2 separate regions of the Homo sapiens genome follow, and region 1 is linked to region 2. The links are contacts of gene promoters, found by promoter capture Hi-C in blood cells and fetal thymus (Javierre and others, 2016). All regions are on one chromosome and are shown on one strand. The core of a region is centred on a gene start or on the middle of the fragment in contact, and the rest is flanking DNA. Distances in the headings are between cores, read along the strand shown. Region 1 overlaps DUSP29 (dual specificity phosphatase 29). Region 2 holds the start of ADK-AS1 (ADK antisense RNA 1).

Region 1 (7,204 bases), core at 1,638-4,137, 520 kb after region 2:
TGCCTCCACCTCCCAAACCCAGTGGAGTCTTAACCGTGCAGTCTTGAGTGTGCCCGTTCCTTGCAAGTGGACTTTAAAACAGTGGGCACATTTCTGGCATCTGATCTCGGTTAGTTCACCTGATGGGAAAGTGAAATGAACCGGCCTTCCGGTGTCTTGGGTGTTCTTGTTACTTGAGGGTGAAGCTCCTCCGTGTTGAGGCACCTGAGAAAACATAGGGCTGACAGCTGAAACTGACGCATGAACTGAGGTGGCAGAACTGCTGGGAGCCTCCGTTTTCTTTGTTTGCTAAATAGTACCGATTACACTGGCAGTACTTTCCTTGTGAGAGTCTTGTGAAGTTGAATGATGCAATACTGAAGCTTCTTTGAGAGGTTAAAAGATGACTCCAAGGGGAAAAGGCAGTGGAAAGATTTATGTCAGAATGTGCTTATCCCATGACAAAATGTGGTAATGGGATTATATGTAGTTTAAATTTTCTTGTTTTTGTCTTTCTACATTTTGTACATTTTCAGTAATGAACGAGTCATATATTCATTTACTATGTAAATATAGCATGATTTGTATTGTTATTTCCTTAGTTTTCAGGAGAGACCATTGTAAAGGCATAAGGTGGCCTCGGGGTTTTTAACTTCTACTGGAAATCTCCTGTCTGCCCCACTCTCCCAAACTCTATTCCTCCAAGGATGGAGGTGAAGAGAAGAGAGTACCCAGGAGGTCTGGTTTTGAGAAATGATGTCGTGTGAGTGATTGGACTCGGCATTTGCCTAACCATGCAAGGAGATGGTTTATGTTGCTTGAGGCCTTGACTGCTAAGCCGTGTTCTGGCAATGAGAAGGCCAGGCCAGGCCAGGGCCTCAGGCTTCTCTCCCCGACCGTCTTGCCTGTGACTGCTGCCCAGCTATGCCTCAGTTGCCTTCAGTAGTTGGAAGTCCTAGTTATTTCAGGTAACGCCCAGCATGTTAAATTCGCAACCTTGACTGTTTTTTGCTGCATCCTAAACTGGCCACACCACCCACACCTCGAAGAAGCAGGTTAATTTCATTCGTGCTCGGTGCCTTAAGGCGGAATTAGTTCCTCCTTTTCGGGGAGAAGGAGCTGTCTCAGCTGACTGACTTGCCTTCACTTCACTTCCCAGGCTCTCAACGCCAGGCCAGCTGTGGCGATGCCTCTGGCTTCTGAGGCTGTGGGTCTGGTCAGAAGCAGAAAAGCAGAAAGGACAAGACAGAGGTTCCCTGGAAAGCCAGCTTGGGCTGGGTGGGTGGGGCAGGCTGCAGGCCTTGGCAGGAATCTGAGCCCAAATGCCGGACCTTGGAGGCAACTGTAGTTTACACAAAAATAAGGAGCTCCTGAGGGCCCGCACCATTCCATGAGCAGCAGAAGTTTAACCTCACCCTGGCACTGGCTCTCCGACACCCGCATTGTGGAGAGGGAAGAGAGATTTCTCAATTATCCCGTTTCAGCCAAGCCTTATCACTGGAGGCTGCCCTGCCTAGGAATTTGCAATCACTTTGATGGTAGCCAGGATATTTCCCCTCCTGCTGACTATAGGGAAAAAAAGGACTGAAAAAAGATTTTGCTAAGCAAATGAAAGATGTGAACGAGATTAAAGTGAGAATATTTAAATTACAGAAACTTAGTGCTTTCGAGCGTACTCAAGCATTTTTGAAGCACCCATTTAGGGACTGCTGATTGATAAGAGGTGATGAATTATTCTTATCTCATCATTGACGCCAGTCCCTGGCTCTCTGGAGGACAACACTTGGTTAACCTAATTTGAATCTAATTTGAATGACTTAAAAGTAATAAAACAAGTGTGTGCTTGAAACTAATAAAGCCTAATTCATTTAATAGGCCATTTCTTAAATAATTTTATTTTAGAGCTGGAAGGGAACCTTCGAAATCATCCTTTATTTTACAAATAAAGAAACTGAGTCCCAGAACAATAAAATGCTTTGCCAAAGGCCACCCATAGTTGGTGGCCACCCACACACAGTGGGGACTGGGACGCTGTGCCGAGTCATGCCTGAGCCCTCCGCTCCACGCTGAGCCTGCAGTTCCACTTGTGGCAGATTCAGACCCCTATCGAGTTAGAGGAATGAGTGGGGAGTGGGTGGCTACACCTTGTGTGAAGAAGACTTCCCCCGAACCCCAGGAATATCTGCAAGGTGGCCAGCCAGGCCCCACCCCTTCGACCCCTCTGCTGAGCCGGCAGAGTGAGCACCCTCCACGTTGCCCTCCTGTTTGTGGCCTTTTCTCATCAGGCTGCACTGGCAGGGCCACCTTTCCCCTTCCCTGGGCTGCTGAGCAGTGAGGACTTGGAATTACCAGGCAGCCCACTTGGTGAATCCCCTTGAGCTAACCTGGGATGGAGAAAATGCTTTAGCGATTTTGAAACCCGCAGGCCCAAGGAACTTTGATATGGCTGCCTTCTTAGGCCTTAGGTCACCTCCCTGGAAGGCCTAGGAGAGCAGGCCCTCCTTCCAACACTCTGCCCTGGGTCATGATAGAATTCTCATGGGAGAAATCTGACCCAGGGTTGTTTTCTCTCCCAAGGCTTCCCCTAGCATGGGGGACCCTGGGTGGCAAGGCACAGTGACTGTGCTTTACCTTCCTCATACACTGTGAATCGAATTTCCAGAACCTGCCTGATTTGTCATAGTTCAAACTTGATGAATGTACTGGGCACCGTGAGACATGTTTTGCTTGCATTAACGCATAGAATCCACATAGGCGAAGAAGCTGAAAGTCACAAAGCCTGAGTGACTTGCCCAAGGCCACACAGAAACCAGTGTTCAGTCCAGACACTGTGGACCCAGAGCAGATGCTTGGCCGCTCCACCTATCTCCACAAAAAGGAGCAAGGAAAAGAGTGAGCTTCATCTTAGAGGTAAGTATGCCCCGCTGCAGGCCCCACAGTCACTGGCCTGGGCTCCAAGGATAGATAGTAGCTTTGGCCATCCCAGGACATCCATCCTTACTCCTGGGTCCTGACCTCCTTCACTTCCAGAGCCTTGGTACTGGGCTTTCAAAAATCTTAGGTGCTTTTAGGGAAAGGAAAAACCTAACCGAAATGTAAATATCAAATTAAAACTGAGGCTTTGTGCATGAGGAACCAGCTTGGAGCTTTTGGCTGCTTTGGGCAACCCCTGCAAAGAGACCAAGAAACACAGGCAGCCTTGCCTGTTCACAGCCCAGCTTATAACCTTTGCATGGCTGCATTGGCGGTAGAGTTAATTGCTCTTGCAATAAGCGTCTGTGAGTCTCATTAACCTTGTTAAGTGAGTGTCACAGAAATCAGGGACAAGCACACACCATGCTGACTTGAGGCTCCCTCCCTCAGCTGGGGGTGTAAAGTCTCACACACCTGTGTGTGCTTGTATTGGGGCTCGATTAGGCACAGTTGGATTGAATTAAAAGGGCAGTGACATTTTCCATTTTCTTGGTTGAAAGAAGCAAGTTCAAGGTCAAACATCAAGGAGGCAAGCATATTTTATTGTCTAGCACTCGATTAACTAGAACACGTCAGTTCTGCTCAGACACTCAATGGTTTTCTGAATAAAGTCCCTTGGCCGTCATTCACCCTTCCATGAGCTGGCCCTGACCTACCTTTCCAGATTTCTTTTTTGTTAACTATAATATTTGCATTTGTCTACTTTTTTTTTTTTTTTTTTTTTTCTTGAGACGGAGTTTCGCTTTGTCACCAGGCTGGAGTGCAGTGGCGCGATCTCGGCTCACTGCAACCTCCGCCTCCCGGGTTCACGCCATTCTCCTACCTCGGCCTCCCGAGTAGCTGGGATTACAGGAGCCCGCCACCATGCCAGGCTAATTTTTTTGTATTTTTAGTGGAGACAGCATTTCACCGTGTTAGCCAGGATGGTCTCAATCTCCTGACCTCGTAATCCGCCTGCCTCGGCCTCCCAAAGTGCTGGGATTACAGGCGTGAGCCAACGCGCCCGGCCATCCCCGGCTAATTTTTGTATTTTTAGTAGAGGCGGGGTTTTGCCATGTTGGCCAGGCTGGTCTCGAACTTGTGACTTCAAGCGAGCCACCTGCCTCGGCCTCCCAAAGTGTTGAGATTACAGGCGTGAGCCACCACGCCTGGCCAACTATTCTTCAAGTTGAGGAAAAGGTAAAATAACCTGCCCAAAGCCAATGCACCTGACCAGGAGGCTGTGCCAGATGGCATTATTGTTAGAACGTTTGCAGCCCCTCTGGCTGCGCTAGTTATACTTTCCTGCCCCACTGACATGAGGCTTTGGCGTGGACTTGCTTTTGCCAGTGAAATGTGGGCAAAAATGGCATGTGTCACTTCTAAATCAGCTTATGGTTTGCTAGGTCTCTCTTTTCTCTCTGCTGCAAGGCTGGCAAGATCTCAAATCAGGGCTGCTCTATCACCCTGGGTCCTAGAGTAAAGTGGCCGGGAGCGCAGCAGAGCTGGCCCACCATGGACTGCATTGTGAGTGAGAAAGAATCATTGCTGTGGCCGGCCACCAAGATGTTGGGGTGAGCTATTAGACTAGCACAGCTAATCGAAACTGACCACACAGCAGTAGAATTTGGCTTAATCTTGGACCTTCTGAAAGTGTACCACATTCATCCCCTATATTCCAGATGAATCTCCCTGCTTTTCTCACCTCTGTAGCTATTCCCATCCTGCTTCCTCTGCCTGGAATTTCTTTGAAATCCTACCCATCTTCAAAAGTCGAGCCTAGATCCATGTCTTCTGTGATCTTTCTCAGATCCATAATAGCACCAAGCACTTACTGAGCATTTACTACTTGCCAGATACTACTCTAGCATTTGTTTGATTTCATTTAATCTTCACCCAGTGAGATAAGTCCCATTATTGTTGCCACATAAGGTGAAGAGAGGTAAAATAATTTGTCCAAGGTCACACAACTGGTAATTGGCAGAGCCAAGACTCAAACCCCGTGCTCCTTCCCCTCTAGTACTCACCGCTGTTTCTGTTCCCTGTTACATTTCTACCCATCTCCTCCCTCTCCCCTCCTCAACTCTGAAACAGCTTCTTTACCTGACTGACCATGTTTTTTTTTTTTTGATCTGGATTTGAGTATAAATTTTACCCCTTTCTGGTGGTGAGAACTTGGGCTGGTCACTTGATTTCTCTGAGCTTCAGTGTCTTCTTTTTTTCCCCCGCAGCTCCAAGCAAGGTGTCCAGTAAAGGGTTACTGGCTGACTGAATGAATGAATGAACTCTCTGAGCTGTGACTTGTCCATTTGTAAAATGGGAATAATATTTGTAAAATGGTTCCTCCTTTATAGGGTTGTTGAGGAGTCTAAATGATGCCTAGCACAAGGCATGACACCTACCACCTAAGAATTCAATACAACTTAACTATTATTATTATAAGCCATAGGAAAGGTAAATACAGTATATAATATACAGAGAAAAAGCTTACTTCTCACTATGGGGATTGGAGGAAGCTAGCTTCATGGCAGAAGTGACTTGAATGGACTTTGAAGAATGCATAGGATCTGGACTTGGACATGAGGTGCAGGGAAAGACATTTTAGACAAAGGGAACAGCATGGATAAAGATACAGAGACAGTTTAAGTCTTAAAATCTTAATCTTTCCTCAGTTGTACCATTTCTAGGGTCAGATCTAAGGAAATAATTCTAAATATAGAAAAAACATTATGTGTAAAGATGTCCACTGCAGTGTTGTTTATAAAAGTGAAAACATAAAAATAACTGATATGCCCAACAATAAGGAAGTAGTTAAATGAATGCTCTTCTGTTCATCTGATATATTGTCATGTCTATTATAATTAAATATATAAGAAGTAATAAAAGAAAATGTTTATGAATGATGCTATGTGAGAAATAAGAGAAAATGAATAATCATTATAGTTACAATTATATAAAAACAAATTCCAAAACCAAAAGTAATATTCGGAAAGTCTAGGAGGAAATATACCACAATATTAATAGGAGTATCTTTGAAGTAATGGCCTTTGGTGACTGCTTTGGGATATTGAAAGCAATCTTTCTTACATTTATCATTTTTTTATTATCATAGCTAAACTTTACTGAGCACTTCCTATGTACTAGGCAGTGCACTATTTTACACACATTACCCAACTTAATCCATACAGCCCTGTGAGGAAGGTTATCTTATTAGCCTCTTACCAATAGGGAAACCGAGACTTCTCTATTTACACAATGAGCATATGTTACTTTTTTTTTTTGAGACAGGGTCTCACTCTGTCACCCAGACTAGAGTGCAGTGGCACCATTACAGCTCACTGTAGCCATGACCTCCTGGACTCAAGTGATCCGCCCACCTCAGCCCCCCAAGTAGCTGGGACTATAGGTACATGCCACCAAGCCCAGAAAATTTTTAAAAATTTTTGGTAGAGATGGTGTCTTGCTATATTGCTCAGGCTACTTGCAAACTCCTGGGCTCAAGCAATCCTCCCACCTTGGCCTCCCAAAGTTACAGGGTTACAGGGGTGAGCCATCATGCCCGGCCTATTACTTTCATTATAGGAAATATTTACTACATTTATTTAATATTTTGTTATTAAAAGACTAGAGATGTCAGTCCCTCCTTTTTTTTTTTGCTACTTCAAACAGTGTTATAATAAGCATCGCTGCACATATTTTCTCATTATTGCTACTCTTATTTCTGTAAATTACATTTCTTAAAGTGATATTTTGGGTCAAAATATATGTGTGCCTTTTTTATTCTGAACTAATTTTAGACTTACAGAAACGTGCAAATATCACACAGAGATTGGCAATAAAAAGGAATCAAATACTGATACAAGTACAATTTGGATGAACCTGGAAAACATTATACAAAGTAAAAGAAAGCCAGGAACATATTATAACATTCCATTTATACAGAATGTCTGGGAATCAGTAAATCTATAAAAACAGAAAGTAGATTGGTGGTTGCCAGGGCCTGAGAGGCAGGTAGGGAATGGGGAGTGACTGTTTAGTGGGTTCAGGGTTTCCTTTTGAGGTGACAAAAATATTCTGAAATTAGAGAGTGGTGATGTTTGCACAACTCTGTAAATATAACAAAAGCTCTGAATTGTATACTTTAAAAGGGTGAACTTTATGGTCTATGAATTATTTCTCAATAAAGCCAAATTCAAAGAAGAAAACCTTAGAGAGTTTCTGTACACCCCTCTCCTTCCTTCCCCTAATGTTCACAACTGAGAAATTGTGGGTA
Region 2 (6,654 bases), core at 522-3,021:
TAATAAGAGCTCAAATTTGGAGGATAACGAGATAGCTGCCTCTGCCTTTGCCGGTGCAGTGAGAGCAGCTTCAGGAATCTTATGGCCTCTGAATATTTTGGCATCTTCAGCCTACCAAAACTGTGTCAAAAATGCCTCTCTTATTTCTGCATTGTCCACTGGACGTTTTAGTCATATTCAGACACCAGTTGTTTCCTCCACTCCCAGACTTACCACATCTGAGAGAAACCTGACATGTGGGCATACTTCAGCGATCCTTAATAGAGTGGCCCTCTTGCTTCCAAGTGTCTTGAAGCTGCCAGCCAGATCTCTAACATACGTCAGTACAGGAAAAGGCAAGAGAAGGATTGTGAAAGCTGTCATCTATAGGTTTCTTCGACTTCATTGTGGCCTTTGGATGAGAAGGGCTGGTTATAAGAAAAAATTATGGAAAAAGGCACCTGCAAGAAAAAAGCGATTGAGGGAATTTGTATTCGGCAATAAAACCCAGAGTAAACTCTTAAGATAAAATGACGACGTCCTTCTGGAAGAGGTGAAACTGGTATGTCCATGATCCTTATCAGAAGTGTCATGATCGAACAAACCTGAAAGTATAGATCAGAAGTTTCACTTGTTTCTCAGTTATTGAATATGTATCTTTGTGTACATATCTGCAAAAATGGATAAGTAAAAATCTCGATGTAAATTGTATCAATGAATATGTAAACATACAGTGACAACACTGAACTTATAAAAGTTTTAAAACTTAAAAAAAAAGCTCAAATTTGTAAAAGACATGTAAAAAGAAGGTGGAAAATGTATTTAGAATCAGGGAATGATGCTAAAAGTTTGGTAGAGACAAAAGAGAAAAGAAAGTCCCAAAAGTGGTTTAAGTTTGCAGCAGATGCTGATGATATCAAAACAATCTTCACTTAAAAAAAAAAAAAAGACTCCAAAGTACAAGCAACAAATGGAAAAAATAGATAAATTAGACATCATCAAAATTAACAATTTTTGGGCATCGAAGGACACTAACAAGAATGTGAAAAGACAACTAGTGGAATGGGAGTTAATATTTGCAAATCATATATCTGATAAAGGATTCATATTCAGAATATTTAACACAGTAACAACTCAACAATAAGCAAACTAACAACATAATTCAATAATGATCAAAGGAATTTAATAAACATTTATTCGAAGAAGATATACAGATGGCCAGTAAACACATGAAAAGATGCTCAACATAACCATTCAAGAAGTGCAAATCAAAACCAAAATTAGATACCACTTCACACCCATCAGAATGACAATTGTTTTAAAAAATGGAAATTAACAAGTATTGGTGAAGATGTGGAGAAATTGGAAACACTTGTGTATTGCTGGTGGGAATGTAAAATGGGAATGTAGAAGACAATTTGGTGGTTCCTCAAAATGTTAAACATAGAATTATTACCATATGATCTAGCAGTTCTACTTCTAGGTATATTACCCAAAATAACTGAAAGCAGGGACTCAGATAATTGTACACCAATGTCCATAGCAGCATTATTCACAATAGCTAAGATAGAAGCAAATCAAATATTCATCAACAGATGAATAAACAAAATTTCATGTATATATACAATGGAGTATTATTTAGCCTTAAATAAAATTTTGATACATGCTACAACATGAATGAATTTTGGAAATACTATGTTAAGTAAAATAAGCCAGACACATCAGACAATTATTGGATTTTCTAAGAAGAATTCCACTTACAAGAAGTATCTAGAATAGGCAAATTCATAGAGACACATAGTAGGATAGTGATTACCTGGGAGTGGGGTGGGGAGGAATGAGGCATTATTGTGTAATAAGTACAGAGCTTCTGTTTGGGATGATGAAAAAGTTCTGGAAATGGATAGTGGTGATAGTTGCGCCACACTGTGAATGTATTTAGTGCCAATGAATTGCATACTTAAAATGGAAAATTTTATCATATGTATAGTTTACCACAATTTTTTTGAAAAAGTTTTATTCTACAAATCAGTAAACTTAAAAGTTGGATCACAGCTTAGCATAGATTATTAAAGGAATTATTTTTCCCCACCTAGAAGAGGAAGTGGTAAAACTGTAAGCTGCTACGTGGCTGTAAGTCATGGGGCAAGAAAATCTTTTCTCTTTTGGTATGATTATTGTTCATTTGAATTCGCTTCAAGAGGTATTTATATAGTACCTAAGTACCTATTATGGCAGACCAATAAGCAGTGGATACATAGTATATTTTAGAACATCTGTCATTACGTGGACTATAGAATAATAAAGATTGGCTATAAGACAATTAGAGGTATTTGGTATTTTATTGAAGCAGTCTCAAAAGGTCTGTTGATAAATAAATTGATTTCTAGGGGTACGCCTCAGTGTTTACCCTGCCTTTGCTTAAGTAAACAGTGATTTAGATAAAGCTATATTTGCATATAATTCAAATGCAAATAATACAACACCTTAATACATACTAGGTAAGTTGAAGGTCAAAATCAGATTTTTTTAAATGTTAGTAGACTCTAAATATCAGTTGAGTGATGAAATTTAATAGGGATAATAAAAATTATATCGTATTTGATTATAAAAAGCAAGTAGAGTAAAATGCTTTATCCCTTTAATCTCATCATCCATTGTTTTTCTCCTTGAATACTATAGTGATAATGTTATCTTCAGTTTTCCAGGAAAAAAGAGACATTTTACTTCTAAAATGTGACGAAGGATAAAATATAGTTATCAGAGAATATACGTAGGATTCTTTAATATTTCCCCCCTCAAAAAAATAAAGTATACTGTGTTTAGTATAAATTTTTAAAATGTCAAAACTCAGCTAAAATCAAACACACTTGGCCCTTATTTTCTACATGTCACCTTCCTCTTGTCAGAGGATTGTACAGTAGTAATGATGATTTAAAACTTCTGATAGCCTCAATATTTAAAAAAAATAATACCTTGTCCACAAAGATTATTTCTTCACAGGCAATGATCAATGATCCCTGTGAGACAAGAAATAAATAAGATAAACCTGATGATTACCCCAGCTAACTCCTTGGAGATAATTTCCAGGCAACAGAAGAAAGGTAACTAAGGCCAAGCACAGTGGCTCACGCCTGTAATACCAGCACTTTGGGAGGCTGAAGCGAGTGGATCCTTTGAGGTCAGGAGTTCAAGACCAGCCTGGCCAACATGGTGAAACCCCCTCTCTACTAAAAATACAAAAAAGCCTGGCAGGGTGGTTGTGCGCCTGTAATCCCAGCTACTCGGGTGGCTGAGGCATGAGAATTACTTGAACCTGGGAAGCAGAGGTTGCAGCGAGCCAAAATTGCACCACTGCACTCCAGCCAGTGTGATTGAGACTCTGTCTCAAAAAGAAAAAAGAAGGGTATCTCAAGTAGACCCTTGCAGTCTCTTTTAATGAGGAGTTGGAGCCGGAAGTTCAAGGAGTCTAAGACAGCTAGTGTTTGTAAGTTAAAAGTACCAGAGAAGAAATAGCTGAATAGAGGGAGAACACAGGACATTTGCAGAATCCCAACAAGTCTTCAGCTGAGTATGAATCAGTGCATTTTTGTGAAGAAATTAAGGAAGACCACAAAAAGAACCACCTAAAAAGATTGTAGAAGACAATCCTCAGTGCACACATGAGGACCTATAACCATTCCTATCCTACTAGTCAGAGTGGATAACCTCGTAATTCACGAGGCTTCAAGTAGAGTATTAAAAGGAATTTTGTCTCATTAGCAGGTTAAAATCAGCTCTAGACTAGATGTTCTGGTCCCTCCTGTCAATATTATTACAATATATTTGACAACCTTTATGAAATGGACAAATTTGTTAAAAGACACAAAGTACTAAATCATACTCAAGAAGAAATAGAAAAAGTCTGTTTAGATTATTAAAGAAATTGAATTTGTAGTTAAAACCCTTGCTACAAAGAAACTTCAAAGGCTGAATTGCTTCAGTGTTTAATTCTTTTCTGTTTGTTTGTTTGTTTGTTTTGAGACAAGGTCTCACTCTCTCACCCAGGCTATAATACAATGGCACAATCATGTCTCACTGCAAGCTCAAACTCCTGGGTTCAAATGATCCTCCTACCTCAACCTCCCGAGAAGCTAGGACGACAGGTGCAAACCACCACAGCTGGCTAATTTTTAATTTTTGTAGAGAGGAGGTCTCGTTTTGTTGCCCAGGCTGGTTTCAACCTCCTGCACTGAAGCGAGTCCTTCTACCTCAGCCTCCCAAAGTGCTGGGATTACAAGCATGAGCCACTGCACTTGGCAGTGTTGAATTTTAACACAGATTTCAGAAAGATGTAGTACCAATTGTATACAAACTGTCCCAGAAAATTGAAGAGGGAGAAATATACCTATCTTATTTCATGAGGTCAGCATTACCTTCATACCAAAAACAAAGTATTGCAAGAAAACTACAGACCAATATCCCTCATAAACACAGATGTAAAAATTCTTCAAATAATTTTAGCACATCAAACCGAACAATATATTAAAAGAGTAATTCATCATGACTAGGAGTGTAGAATTGGTTTAGCATTTTGAAATCCATCAATGTAATTAAATATGTTAAGACTAAAAAGAAAAATCACATGATTATCCTAAAAGCTTTTGAAAAATCCAGACATCTATTTCTGTTAAAAGCCCTCGGAGGCTGGGCATGGTGGCTCATGCCTGCAATCCCAATAGGGATTGGTGAGGGTCAGGAGTTTGAGACCAGCCTGGCCAACATTGCAAAACCTCATCTCTACTAATAATACACAAAATAGCAGGGCATGTTGGTGGGCACCTGTAATTCCAGCTACTTGGGAGGCTGAGGCAGGAGAATCGCTTGAACTGGGGAGGCAGAGGTTGCAGTGAGCCAAGATCATGCCACCACACGCCAGCCTGGGCAACAGGGTGAAACTGTGTCAAAAAAAAAAAAAAAACCCTTGGAATAGTAGAAGCATGAAAAAATCCAGATTTAGAAAGAAGGAAGTAAAACTGTCTCTATTATCAAAAGCATGATCATCTTCATACAAAATCTGATGTCATCTTCAAAAAGCTATTAGAACTGGCTGGGCATAGTGCATCACGCCTGTAATCCCAGCACTTTGGGAGGCCGAGGCTGGTGGATCATTTGAGGTCAAGAGTTCTAGACCAGTGTGGCCAACATGGCAAAACCGCGTCTCTACTAAAAATACAAAAATTAGCTGGGCATGGTGGCACACGCCTGTAATTCCAGCTACTTGGGAGGCTGAGGCAGGAGAACCCGGGAGGCTGACCTGAGGCAGGAGAACCCAGGAGGCGGAGGTTGCGATGAGCCGAGATCATGCCACTGCACTCCAGTCTGGGCGACAGAGCAAGACTCTGTCTCAAAAAAAAAAAAAAAAAAAAAGCTATTAGAACTAAGTGACGTAGCAAGATTGTAGCATACAGAATAAAAAATTTAAATCTCAAATGTATTTTTCTATATTAGCAAGAAACAACCAGAAATTTAAAAATACGATTTCCAATACCATCAAAAAGTATAACAAAGTATTTACTTTGGGATAAACCAGACCAAAGATGTATACACTGAACACTACAAAACATTGTTGAAAAAATTTAAGAAGACCCAAATGGGAGATATATCATGTTCATAGATTAGAAGACTCTGTATTGTTAAATATAAATTCTACTCAAAATAATCTATAGTTTAGTGTAATTCAGTCAGAATTTCAGAAGTTTTTTTTAAAGTCAAGTTGATTCTAATATTTATATGGAAAAGCACTGGACTAGAGTAGCCAAACCAACGTGGATTTTAAAAACCAAATCAGAAGACCTTTACATGATTTGAAGACTTATTACAAAGCTACAGTAATCCAGACAATGTGGCATTGGTGTAATGATAGACAAATAGTCAATGGAACAGAAGGGAACGTCCAGAAATAGACCTAAATTTATTTTTCAACAATGTTTCAGAGGCTTTTTCATGGAGGAAGAAAACAGTCTTTTTGACAAGTCGTTCTGGAGCAATTAAATATCCATATCTAAAAACGCAAACTTCAACCCACGTAACAAACAACTGCACGGCTATTAGAATGTCTGAAAGTGTGACCATACCAAATATTGGTAAGGATATATGGAGCAGCTAGAATGTAAAATGGTACAACTACTTTGGAGAATGGTGTTCTTGTTTCTTACAAAGTTAAATATACATCCTCCAAATGACCTAGCTATCCCACTCCTAGATATTCACCCAGGACAGATGAAAGCATCTGTCCATGTAAAGACATACACAGGTGTTTATAGCAGCTTTATTTGTAATGGCCAAAGTCTGGAAAACAAACCAAACATCCACAACTAGTAACTGGTTAAACAAATTGTGATATTTCCATAGAATAGAATACTACTCAACTATAAAAGAATTGTACTATTGATAAGAAATGAACCAACAGCATAGAAGAATTTTAGAATACCTATGCTGAGTGTAAGATACTGTAAAGTACATTCTATATGATTCTATTTATATTCTAGAAAGTGCTAACAAATTTATGGTGATGGCAGATCCATTGTTGTCTGGGGACAGGGTTATGCTATGAGGCAGTGATCACAAACGGGCATGAGGAAACTTTTAGGAGTAATAGATGTGTTCCCATTGAGGTTGTGGTTGCAGTACTTT

What was found. Contacts are between HindIII fragments. The CHiCAGO score rates a contact against its expected background, and 5 or more counts as called.
Region 1: a contact is called between a fragment that was not itself captured here and the fragment with the promoter of ADK-AS1 in region 2, in 1 of 17 cell types (total B cells). The highest score is 6.2, in total B cells.

Annotation. Positions count from the first base shown.
Region 1 is chr10:75,048,646-75,055,849 of GRCh38, forward strand. All of the region lies in intron 2 of DUSP29 (dual specificity phosphatase 29), which reads right to left. Among named protein-coding and RNA genes, the nearest start is that of DUSP29, 21 kb to the right of the region's middle. The HindIII fragment of the contact is 5,055 bases long and covers 361-5,415 here.
Region 2 is chr10:74,527,553-74,534,206 of GRCh38, forward strand. It overlaps ADK-AS1 (ADK antisense RNA 1), which reads right to left and starts at 1,772. Exons shown (of 5, transcript NR_120673.1): 1 at 1,741-1,772; 2 at 214-440. The region is part of intron 7 of ADK (adenosine kinase); the gene reads left to right. It also overlaps the pseudogene MRPL35P3. The HindIII fragment of the contact is 4,742 bases long and covers 1-4,617 here.